2 separate regions of the Homo sapiens genome follow, and region 2 is linked to region 1. The links are contacts of gene promoters, found by promoter capture Hi-C in blood cells and fetal thymus (Javierre and others, 2016). All regions are on one chromosome and are shown on one strand. Each heading gives the region's core, a stretch centred on a gene start or on the middle of the fragment in contact. The rest is flanking DNA. Distances are from core to core; before and after follow the strand shown.

Evidence for each region. The method cuts DNA at HindIII sites, captures the fragments that hold promoters and counts their contacts. A CHiCAGO score of 5 or more calls a contact.
Region 2: the fragment with the promoter of CAAP1 here is called in contact with the fragment with the promoter of SNAPC3 in region 1 in 1 of 17 cell types (non-activated CD4 T cells); the score reaches 5.2 in non-activated CD4 T cells.

What each region holds. Positions count from the first base shown.
Region 1 is chr9:15,420,125-15,426,043 of GRCh38, forward strand. It overlaps SNAPC3 (small nuclear RNA activating complex polypeptide 3), which reads left to right and starts at 2,752. Exons shown (of 9, transcript NM_001039697.2): 1 at 2,752-3,069; 2 at 3,785-3,862. The coding sequence starts at 2,756. RefSeq lists a silencer at 2,479-2,768 and an enhancer at 3,109-3,228. The HindIII fragment of the contact is 2,004 bases long and covers 1,197-3,200 here.
Region 2 is chr9:26,887,561-26,894,202 of GRCh38, forward strand. CAAP1 (caspase activity and apoptosis inhibitor 1) reads right to left here and starts at 5,242. Exons shown (of 6, transcript NM_024828.4): 1 at 4,853-5,242. The coding sequence starts at 5,155. RefSeq lists enhancers at 4,641-5,220, 4,792-4,971, 5,052-5,271, 5,221-5,800, 5,402-5,471. The HindIII fragment of the contact is 2,677 bases long and covers 3,030-5,706 here.

The DNA.
Region 1 (5,919 bases), core at 1,502-4,001:
ACAACCAGAAGGCCGGGCGCAGTGGCTCACGCCTGTAATCCCAGCACTTTGGGAGGCAGAGGTGGGCGGATCACCTGAGGTCAGGAGTTCTAGACCAGCCTGACCAATATGATGAAATCCCATCTCTACTAAAAATACAAAAAAATTAGTCAGGTGTGGTGGAATGCACCTGTAATCCCAGCTACTCAGGAGGGTGAGACAGGAGAATCGCTCCAACCCAGGAGGTAGAGGTTGCGGTGAGCCAAGATCGCACCATTGCACTCCAGCCTGGGCAATAAGAGGGAAACTCTGTCTCAAAACAAAAAAAAAAAAAAAAAAAAAGAAAGAAAAAAAAAACCAGAGCTCCTATGGAAACACAATAACTTTATTTAAAAATTGGTAAAGAACTTGAATATACATTTCCCCAAAGAAATATGCAAATGGTCAATAAGCACATGAAAACGTGTTCCATCAATATAATTAGGGAGATGCAAATAAAAAGTCATGAAACACCATTTCACACTCACTGACACGGTTATAATAAAAAGTTCAGATAAGTGTTGGCAAGGATGTGGAGAATCCTGCTGGGGAGGGGAGTAAAATGGGACAGCCACTTTAAAAAAATCTGGCAGTTCCTCAAATAGTTGAAAATAGAGTTCCATAAATACAGAAATCCCTTGGTATCTGCAGGGTGGACTGTTTCGAAGACCCCTGTGGACTCCAAAATTGACAGATGCTCTTCTTGCAGTCAGCCCTGTGGAATCCGCCCATAGGAAAATTCCTCTTATCCTCAGGTTCTGCAACCTGGGAATACTGTAATTTTTGATATGTGGTTGGTTGAATTGGAGGATGCAGAACCCACAGATAGGGAGGGCTGACTGTATACTACTGGGCACATGCCCAAGAGAAATGAAAACGTATTTGCACAAAAATGTGTACATGAATGTTCATAGCAACGCCAAAAGGTAAAAACTTTTTGATAAATAAAATGTGGCATATACATACAATGCAATATTATTCAGCCAAAAAAGGAATGAAGTACTGACACATACTACAAAATGGATGAACGTGTTACAGGTGGCAGGTATCCAAGTTACCAGGGCAAATCTGTATGGGTCTGCAGCAACTTCAGTTCTTGCCTCCTCAGAAGAAAGAATTTGACCGAGGGGCAATAAGGCACAAAAAGAGACTGAGGCAAGTTTCAGAGCAGGAGTGGAAGCTTATTTAAAAGGCCTTTAGGAAAGAAAGGAAAGCACGCTCGGAAGAGTCCCAAGCTGTCACTGAGGTCAACTGTGATATTGACCTCGATCCTAGGACTTTACAGGCTGGCTCCTTTCCCATGATTCTTCCCTTAGGGTGGGCTGCCTCCATGCGCAGTGCCCTCCTTACCCTTGGGAAGTGAGCACAGCGCAATATGTATGAAGTTGTATGCGTGCCCATCTGAGGCTTTCTTCCCTTTTCCGATAGAGTCCCCCTGAAAGGTCATACTCCCCGATTTTGTCTCTTAATGCATATGCCCAGGAAGTTGCTTCTCCCTGTCACCTGCATTCAACGAGCACTTTAGTGCAACAGGTGTGGGCCATCAGGAAATGGCCTCTCCCTGGCACCGGCTGCCAATTTATCACTTTTAGAGGCAATGTGATAAATGCCTAAGCATCACCCCACATTCCTAGTGGGTGAGGGAAGAGCCCTCTCCTGCCCTGCTCATGCCTAACTACCTGTAACAAACCTTGTAAACATTAAGCCAGCCACCAAAAGACCATATAATTCCGTTTATATTAAATGTCCAGATTAGTTAAATCTAGAGAGACAAAGTAGGTTCTTGGTTGGCTAGGGCTGGAGGAGTTGGGAGGATCAGGGGTGATAGCTAAAAAGTACAAGTTTCTTCTTTCGAGTGGTAAAAATGCTCTCAAATAGTGGTGATGGTTGCCCAAGCCTGTGAATATACCAAAAATCACTGAACACTTCAAATGGGTGAATTATATGGCATGTGATTACAGTCTAATAAATAAATAGTATGTCCTGCTGTATCCTTCAGGGCCTCTGAGAAATGGAGAGAGCTCCATCTGAAGCCAGACTGAGTTCCGATCCTGCTTCTATTTTCCCCGCAGGTAAATCCTTCCTCAACAGCAACACGGGGTGATACGCCCTATCCGGAAAGGTTGTTGTAATTTTTAAAAACATTAAAAACATACATTAGGGTTAATCATGTAGCGTGTGATACACAGACGCTCTGAAACACTACTGCACACGCACACCAACATGGGGCCTCTGCGGAGCTTGTGAAAGAACCAGATCTGGAGGGCTGGTCGTGTCCCTGGTCTCGGCCCTCGCCCTCCTTGTTTCTTAGGCTCTAAAGCAATCAGGCAGCAGAGCAGTCCTTGAACCCCAGTCAAGAAAAAGCCCTGCACCCCTTAGTCCGAAAGCCGCAAGGAACGGGGCCTAAGCGCCTGGCGAGGCCGCCCTACCGGGCAGAGACAGTTGCTACGTAACTCGGGGACCAGAAACCCAGCCCCACCCGCTGCGGTTAACCGACAGCCGCAACGGTTCCCGCACCGCCCGGGTCGGAGAACAATGCTGCGCCCTGCACGTAGAGCCTCGCGGTGCCGCGCCCTGGGGCGGGCCTGCCCATGGCCTGCCGGGAAATGTAGTTTCTGATGCCCTGCCCGCGCCGCCTCGCCGCTCGCCGGCCGGGCGCCCCAAGCAACTACAACTTCCATCACGCTCTGCGAGGCCTTGATCTGCAGGCTTTTGCAGGGGAAGGAGTGGGGCGAACATGGCTGAAGGAAGCCGAGGTGGCCCTACGTGTAGCGGGGTGGGTGGCAGGCAGGACCCAGTCTCCGGCAGTGGCGGCTGCAACTTTCCAGAGTATGAGCTTCCCGAGCTAAATACGCGCGCTTTCCATGTGGGCGCCTTTGGGGAGCTGTGGCGGGGCCGTCTGCGCGGGGCCGGGGACTTGTCGCTGAGGGAGCCGCCGGCATCCGCTCTGCCTGGGAGCCAGGCAGCTGACTCCGACCGGGAGGATGCCGCGGTGGCCAGGGATCTGGACTGCAGCCTGGAGGCGGCGGCTGAGCTGAGGGCGGTGTGCGGGTGAGTGCGGAGCAAAGGGGCTCTTGCAGCTTGGGGTCAAACAGGGTGCAGCCTTGCTCGTGCGCTCCTCTGGGACTCATCCCTGAGAAGGGCCTGTGGTTTAGACCTGGGCTAGGAGTATTACCCTTTAAAGCTTTCAACCCGCTGGAGCCTTCCTGGGACACCAGGAGAAGTCCTGGGACCCGAATGCACAGTTTCTACGAGTTGGAGCAAAGGGACAAGACAGCTGCATCAAAGACTAGTTTTTCCATTTGCTTATTCTAAGAGTGCTTGTTAATAAAGAAAAGCAATCAGGGCAACAGCGACGTGTACCTGCCATTGACAGACACTTTGACAATGGAGGAACCTGAGTAATGGTGAAGCTGCGGGAGACTTCATCAGAGGAGTGTTAAAACCCCGACTAACTGGTTTCTTTTGGGGACCTTCCGGGTATTCTGTTACTGAAATATTTCTTAAAAGTGCCTTATTTGGGGATGAAAATATAAAAATAACTTTAATCTCTTTCTCCATTTAACAGTACTGGCTGCCTTCATCGGCCTTTTCATTATAAAATATAATCACAGAAATCGTTGTCTTAAGTTCTGGCCTCTCTGAGCCGCCTGCTGGATTTTATCTGACTTCGTAATTCAGTAATGTATTTAGGAAAACAACCCTAACTCGCTGTGAACCAGATGCAGAGTCGACCTTAAAGTATTGCTTTTCCTTTTTGTTTTAGCCTTGATAAACTGAAATGCCTTGAGGACGGTGAGGATCCAGAAGTCATTCCGGAGAATACTGACCTGGTGACTTTGGGGTATGGAGGACTTGGTTTTTATGACCTATTTATTTAAACATTTTTTCAACATTATGTTTTGAAAAGTTGAAAGTGCAGTATTGATTGTTGTCTGTATACCCACCCCTTAAATTCAGCTGTTCTTAATATTTGACCATATTTACTTTAGCCGTGTGTATGGGATGCCTGCTGTGTGTTTTTTCATTTTGCTATCCCCCATTCAGTAAGTTAGACATGATAATTTACCCGTAAATACATAAGCATATAGCTTCTAAAAGTATCATTCTCCTACATAATTATTGTGGTATTATTATACCTAAGAAAACCGTAAATACATAATCTATAATATTCAGTCCATATTCAAACTTGTGTTTATTTTTTAATATTTTTGAATGTTTGTTTATAGAGGTAATCTACTTAGATCTGGGGGGCAACCTAAATACTCTGACAGTGTTTTTCAAACTATTTGTGGTAAAGGACAGTTCTTGTTTTTAAAAATTTTTAATCTTTGACAGATTTATGCTTTGATAAAATACTATAAAAAGAATTACTAGAAAAATGGAATTAAAAAAGACAAACACAATATAAGTTCAAATTTTTAATTAAATTCAATAGACAAAATTATTCAATGATAATGGAAGTTTCTAAATGCTTACTGTCATTTTCTGTACAGATTGGTTAACAAATAGGTCATAGATGAATTCTGGTCTGCCTACCACTCTTTGAGAGGCACTGTTGTATGATAATATAGAGAAATTGTGCATGTAATAGTGAAATTTATAATTTCCAATTTATAGTCCACTTATTTCATACTACCTCAGCTATGTTCTGTCGTTCTTGATCCTACGCTATTATCCCCCTCAAATATTCAGGCAGTCATTTCAACTCTACTTGGGTTTTCTTTCATAATAACTGCTAAATCTGTTCCCCTGGTCCCTACTGCTGACTTTTACAGCAGCAACACCTGGAGCACTGTGCAAGGTTCTTAAGTGTCTTTGATAAGTACAGTCATTTCTCCCACTGATTTATCCATCATGCTGTCGCCTGAGCAAGCCATTTTGCTTAAAAATGGTCTATGGCCCTACATCTCCTATATGGAAAAATTTCAAACTCCTTAGCTAGACATTTGAAGCCTTCCACATATATCCCAAATTTGCCTTTCCAGATTTATTTTCAACCACTTTCTCTTTCAGATGGCTCAGGATGCATGTGGCCTCTCTCCCATCTGAAACATACCACTTCTATGTTATGTTATGTTACGTTATTTTTTTGAGATGCAGTCTCACTCTGTTGCCCAGGCTGGAGTGCAGTGGCGTGATCTCTGCTCACTGCAACTTCTGCCTCCGGGTTCAAGCGATTCTCCTGCCTCAGCCTCCGGAGTAGCTGGGATTACCGGTGCCTGCACCCTCGGCTGCCTAACTTTTTTGCATTTTTTGTAGAGACGGGTTTCACCATGTTGGCCAGGCTGGTTTCAACTCCTGACCTCATGTGATCTGCCCAACTCGTTCTCCCAAAGTGCTAGGATTACATGCGTGAGCCGCCACACCTTGCCCATACCACTTTTTTAAAAGCCCAAAGATTCCTTTCCAGATTACCACAACCCATCTTTCCCTTAGGAAACAGATGCATTTATACTGCCTTAAACTCTTAACATTTCTAAAGTCCTTGAAGGCTCAATGAGAGTCCAAACTCCCATCTGTGTATTGTTCTCAAGCCTACTATACTGCCTTGCTCCAATTGGTGCTCTGTAACTATTGTTGATTGATTAGTTGTATTTGTCTAAAATGCACATCTGATTGTCACTCCCTTGCCTAAAACCTTTTGATGTCCCTTAGGCTGAAGTCCTGAGTCTGTAGTGGCTCACAAAGGCCTCTAAGGAGTGGACCTTGCTGTTTTCATTTTGTTTTGTTTTTGAGATGGAATTTCACTCTTGTTGCCCAGGCCTGAGTGCAATGGTGCGATCCCGGCTCACGGCAACCTCCGCCTCCTAGGTTCAAGTGATTCTCCTGCCTCAGCCTCCCAAGTAGCTGGGATTACAGGCATGTGCCACCACGCTTAATTTTGTATTTTTAGTAGGG
Region 2 (6,642 bases), core at 3,992-6,491, about 11 Mb after region 1:
TAAAGAATACGTACATGACATCATACGTTTTCATTTAATAAATTCTTCTTCATCAAAAATTCCCAAATTCTTTGCATAATTATTTATCAAAACCATAGGAGAGAATATCTGTTTAATATTACTTGATTTTTCTCTCCACACTGCAATTAACTCAAGGAGTAGCTATAAGGGAAGAGATATTTAGGATACACAAACAAAAGTATAGTAAATATTGAATAATTTCTTAAAATTTTAGACTTTTGAAGAATTAGGATTTTCCCCTAAAAGGCCATTCACCCAAAAGCTCTATGTATGCATTATCACTGTACTTAAATTCATATAAATAAATTGAAGTAAAGATGTTACAAATCACAAATATTATACAGAAAAGTAACATACGTACCAGGAGCTATCATCATTTTTAAAACTTTATAATCATAATCAAAGTAACCAAGTAATTTCAGTAATTTAAGATATTTCTGTCCATTTTACTTTCTGTCTCCCAACTCTATCCAGTCTCTCCAAATCTACTGCCATAATTCTGTTCCAAACTACCACAATTTTTTGCCTGGGTTACACCAATAGCCATTTAATGGGACTCCCTGCATCTAATCTGAGGTCTCTTTGTTTTGTACACTGTTAGCAGAATGGATTTTATAAAATGTATACGTACTCATCCTTCTTGTTTAAAACTCTTCAATGAATTCCCATTGCTCCTAAGGTAATATGGCCTACCTGGCCTTCATGCTCATTCTTTGTGTTTAGGACACAATCTTCTTTGAATTACTCGACTGTAACCTATTCTCCTTCCTTCAGCTCATAGAAGCAGGGCTTTTGCATACCATTTTCCTATGACAGTCTTTCCTCCCTCCTTTATCTATCACACTATATTCACAAGATTAACAAATTCAGATACTTCAGACAATTCAACAGTCATTTCCTCTGGAAAATCTTCCCTGACCACAGAGGTCAGATAGTTGTTTACAAAGCAGTTTTAAAATGGGTCAGTTTTAATGAACACTATGATAATTAGACTGAAAAAGTAAAAGAATCAGCACTTGTTCTAACAGTTTACAATGTAATAATGTAGAGAAACTGGAATCCTCATACACTGTTAGCAGGAATATAAAATTGTGCAGCTACTTTGGAAGCTAATTTGGCAGTTCCTCAAAAAGTTACCATATGACCCAGCAATTCCATTGCTAGATATATACCCAAGAGAAATGTAACGATATGTCTACACAAAAACTTGTACTTGTTCTTAACAGCATTATTCATATAGCCAAAAGGCAGAAACAACACAAATGCCCATCAAGTGATAAATGGAAAAATGAAATGCTGTATAGCGTTATCTATACGTATGTGGTACATATGTACAGCTATACAAAAACAAAACAAAATGTGGTATAGTAACCATAAAAAGGCATGAATCTCTGTGATACAAAGGAATGAACCCTATGTGCTACAACATGGATGAATCTTAAAAACATTATGTTAAGTAAAAGATGCCAGACACAAAACACCACATATTATATAAACTAAACGTTACACATAAGGTTGCTTTCTGGAGTGATGAAAATATTTTAAAACTGACTAGGCCGGCGCGGTGGCTCACGCCTGTAATCCCAGCAATTTGGGAGGCTGAGGCGAACGGATCACCTGAGGTCAGCTGTTCGAGACCAGCCTGGCCAACATGGTGAAACCCCGTGTCTAATAAAAAACAGAAAAATTAGCTGGGTGTGGAGGCGGGTGCCTGTAATCCCAACTACTCGGGAGGCTGAGGCAGAAGAATTGCTTGAACCCAGGAGGCGGAGGTTGCAGTGAGCCGAGATGGCGCCATTGCACTCCAGTCTGGGCAACAAGAGGGAAACTCTATCTCAAAAAAACAAAAACAAAAACAAAAACTGACTGTAGTGACGGTTGTACAACTCTGAATATATACAAAATCACTTAACTGTACATGTGAAATGGGTGAATTGCACAGTATGTCAACTACATTTCAATAAAGTTCTTCCCAAGAAAATAGGGAACTCGGCCGGGCAGAGTGGCTCACAGCTGTAATCCCAGCACTTTGGGAGGCCGAGGTGGGAGGCTGAGGGGGGCAGATAACAAGGTCAGGAGATCTAGACTATCCTAGCTAACACGGTGAAACCCTGTCTCTACTAAAAATACAAAAGCATTAACTGGGCGTTGTGGCAGAGGCCTGTTGCCCCAGCTACTCTGGAGGCTGAGGCAGGAGAATGGCGTGAACCCAGGAGGCGGCGCTTGCAGTGAGCCGAGATCACGCCACTGCACTCCAGCCTGGGCGACAGAGCGAGACTCTGTCTCAAAAAAAAAAAAAAAAAAAAAAGGAACCTCAATACACAACAGATATAATGGCACTCTCTAAAGTTTGAAATGTTATCTACATGCCTAATATGCAATGACCTTTTCTTCACAAATACACTAATTTTTCATTAGAAGATGGGTTTAGTTCTGTACGCAAAATGTTTTCAATATTCAATTGACCAGTGTTGTTGGTCTCCCCATCATAACGGAGTGGGAAACTGGTCAGGCGCGGTGGCTCACGCCTGTAATCCCAGCACTTTGGGAGGCTGAGACGAGTGGATCACCTGAGGTCAGGAGTTGGAAACCAGCCTGACCAACATGGTGAAAACCTTACCTCTATTAAAAATACAAAAATTAGCTGGCCATGGTGGCGGGCACCTGTAATCCCAGCTACTCAGGAGACTGAGCCAGGACAATTACTTGAACCTGGCAGGCGGAGGTTGCAGTGGGCTGAGATGGTGCCACTGCACTCCAGCCTGGGCGACACAGTGAGAGCCTATCTCAAAAAAAGAAAAAAAAAAAGGAAACTATTTAAAATAAGAATGGTAATATCCAAAACTGAATCTAGAAGGGGTGGGAAAACTGAATAGATCTATATTAAATAATTTTTTTAAAGAGTGTCTTAAAAAATCACTCTAAAAAACTCCACTAGACCCAGATACTTCTGACAAATATTTGAGAAGAAAATATAAACCATTCTAGAACACACCAAAAAAACACAAAGCTTCCTAATTCAATCCATTACAAAAATAAAAACTACAGTCTGATCTAATTTAGAAACATATACATAAAAGTTGGCCGGGCACGGTGGCTCACGCCTGTAATCCCAGCACTTTGGGAGGCCGAGACGGGTGGATCACGAGGTCAGGAGATCAAGACCATCCTGGCTAACACGGTGAAACCCCGTCTCTACTGAAAATACAAAAAATTAGCTGGGCGTCGTGGCGGGCGCCTGCAGTCCCAGCTACTCGGGAGGCTGAGGCAGGGGAATGGCCTGAACCCGGGAGGCGGAGCTTGCAGTGAGCCGGGATCACGCCACTGCACTCCGGCCTGGGCAACAGAGCGAGACTCCGTCTCAAAAAAAACAAAAAAAAAGAAACACATACATGAAAGTAAAAATACTGAATTCCAGCCAAGTACAACAAACTCAACAAACCAAACAGCACTTGTCCCAAGACTCCAAAGACTGTTCAACATCAACTAACTTATCAACAAATTACATTATCTGACTAAAGGAGAAAAAGTATGTGATCATCTCAACAGAATGCCAGAAAACCACCTGATAAAATCTCTACATAAACTGTTTCTACTCTACCAAAGAGAATAATGAGCAGAGGATATGTACAGAAAATTACATAAGAAGAAATCAAATGGCAAATAAAAATATTAAAATGTTCAATCTCACTAATAAGGAAAATAAAAATTAAAACAAACTATTAATTTGACCCACTAGTCTGGCAATTTTTTTAAAAAATGCCATCAAAATGTCATCAAAAGCTAGTTAAGAATCTCAGAAATAGGTATTCTTATATATATACTGTTTGGACTATAAATCTGTAAAGTCTCATTTGGAAAGCATTTGGTGGCATTCATAAGTTTTTAATAGCATAAACTTTGACCCAGGAATTTCAGTTCTCACACTCTCTCCCAACATAACTCTTGTAGGAGATATATACATAAAGGTGTTTGTATTGTAGTCACAACAATACAAAAAAACCTGCACACCCAAATATCAGAAAAATATAATACAATACCAGGCAGTCAGTAAAAATAACAAACCACGTATATAAAGAAGCCTATCACAACAATGCAGGTATTCAACAGCGGGAATAACACAATACAGCTTAAGTGTAGGAACTTAAAAACACGTATCTCACGAGGAGTGATTAAAAGAGGCCGCGTATCAAAATACTAATGGAGGGGCAAGAAAAGGGACTTGACGCTTTCCCTTTATTTCCTCATTGAATGAATTTAAAGTACCTATTCATTCATTTGTTTTCAAACAAATTATGAACTTTTTTAAAACGGCGTTCTCTTGGCAGACTGGTGGCGTATAAAGAACATGGCTTTTGTAGTCAGATATTTGGATTCAAACCTAGGAGCTATTAACAAACTCTGTGACCGTGGGTAAAGTTTAACTTCTTTGGGCCTCAATTTTCTTATCTCTAATGCGGAGTTAACCATATCTACGAAAAGGTGAAGACGAAGGGAGAAGTGTTTGGCTCGCAAGGGAAATGAAGGCTAGCTTCCAACTCGTATTCTTCCGGCAGAGTGAAACCATAGGAGTGGAAGGAGCCAAGAGTTTAAAAAATAAATTAAAAAAAAAGTGATCAGGAAATCCAGAAACTTGAAGTTCAAGATTCAAGACACGGATGGGAGTGTGGGGCTCACCAGGACTTAGGTAGGAACATGAACCTCAAGGACGGACGACCTTGAGATTGCCGCGCTAGCAGTGAGCTCCAGCCTGCGCCCCATCCCTCTGGAAGCCCGACTTCTTCCGAAAAAGCAGCAGCTCCAGGAAGCGGCCAGAGGGGCGCGCACGCACCTGCTGCAAGGAGCCCGAGACGCTGGAAGAGTCGGTACTCCTCCGCTTCCGGCGCTCGCTGCGCTCCACGCTGCTCCCGCCCCAACAGCTGCCGCCGCTCCCACCGCCGGTGACACTTCCACTAAAATTGGCGTTCCCACAGCAGCTGACGCTCCCGCAGCCCCCGGCGCTCCCGCAGCCGCTAGTGCTTCCACTGCTGCCGCTGGCCAACGCGGGTACGATGTCCGGGGCCGCGAGCGCTGCGGCCGCCTCCTGACTGCTACGTTTGCGCCGTTTCTCCCGGGAGGACTTTTTCCCCGTCATGATCCCTCTGCTGCAACCATCGGAGGAAAGTCCGCTGTCTCTGGTGCGACCGAAGCCCGACTCCTGCGGCCGTGGGCGGCAGGCACTGGCGTCGCAGGTTATGCGTCACTTCCGGCCGTGGCACAGAACGTGGTGAAGCGTTATGGGCCGGGGTGGCAGGGGGGTTGCCATAACCAGTTGCGCTTCCCCCTCCGGTCGCGGAGGTCGATTTGAGTGTGTAGCGGGTAGCCTGTCTAGTCAGAGTTTGTTTTGTTTTGTTTTTATATCTCTACAAAGGATAGAAGGTGGAACTTACGTCCTTTTAACTTCAAAACTTTTTATTGTTAGTGTTTTGTCTGTTTACAATAAGGTTGAAGTATAGTTGCTGATTCTCCATTTCCGTTTACCTCCAAATCTTAAGATATTAACAACGCTATGACAATAAAGAGAATAGGGAAAAGTTGTTCCATCTCATTTTCCTCATCACCTGGGCAAATTAGGTATTTCTTGCGTAGAGTCTGACATGGACAAGTAGAGCTTGAGTTCGTTTTTGAAAATTGAGAATGGGTCAAAGCTTTATGAGATTTTATGGGTGGATGTAATCTAAATAGAAGGCAGATTTTAAGACAAGGGAGCTAGAACACTTAAAACGTGAACCAAGGTCTTTGTCGTTTCAGCAGGGGCCTTTAGCCACTGAGGGAAAAAGGTAGAGCCTGGGGCAAAGCTAGCTGGGTGGTAGTAATTCTGTGCCTTTCCCTGGGGTAAGAAGCAATTAAAGAAGCTTCCCTTCTCTTTGTCTCCTATTTGTCTCAGTCATTCAACAACTACTTAAATGCCTAAAACCAGCCTAGGGTTAATAAATAGGGACACTTCCAGCCCTAGGAAAACTGTCTTCCCCCAGGCCCCACTCTTAAATTGGCCTTGTAAGGTAAATCCTGGGGCTGAGCCCACTGTGTTCCCAGGAGTTCCGTTAAGTATCACACTCATTGGAGTCATACCTGAAAGGATTGAGAGTGTTGTGTTCACAGATAGGAAAAACACATAAAATTAATAACATGTTACATTTATAAACCTGTTATGAATTGTGTCCCTGAAACCATCATAATTTTAATAAAACTAAATTGCTAGATTTTTTCTTTTTTCTTTTTTTTTTTTTTGAGACGGAGTTTCACTCTCGTTGCCCAGGCTGGAGTGCAATGGCACAATCTCGGCTCACTGCAACCTCCGCCTCCCGGGTTCAAGCATTTCTCCTGCCTCAGCCTCCTGAGTAGCTGGGACTACAGGCATGCGCCACCATGCAGGGCTAATTTTGTATTTTTAGTAGACAAGGGGTTTCTCCATGTTGGTCAGGCTGGTCTCGAACTCCCGACCTCAGGTGATCCACCCGCCTCAGCCTCCCAAAGTGCTGGGATTACAGGCGTGAGCCATCGTGCCCTGCCAAATTGCTGGATTTGTGACAAAAGATAAGCTTTTAGTAGAAGCATAGCTAAACGTTAACCAACTTTTCC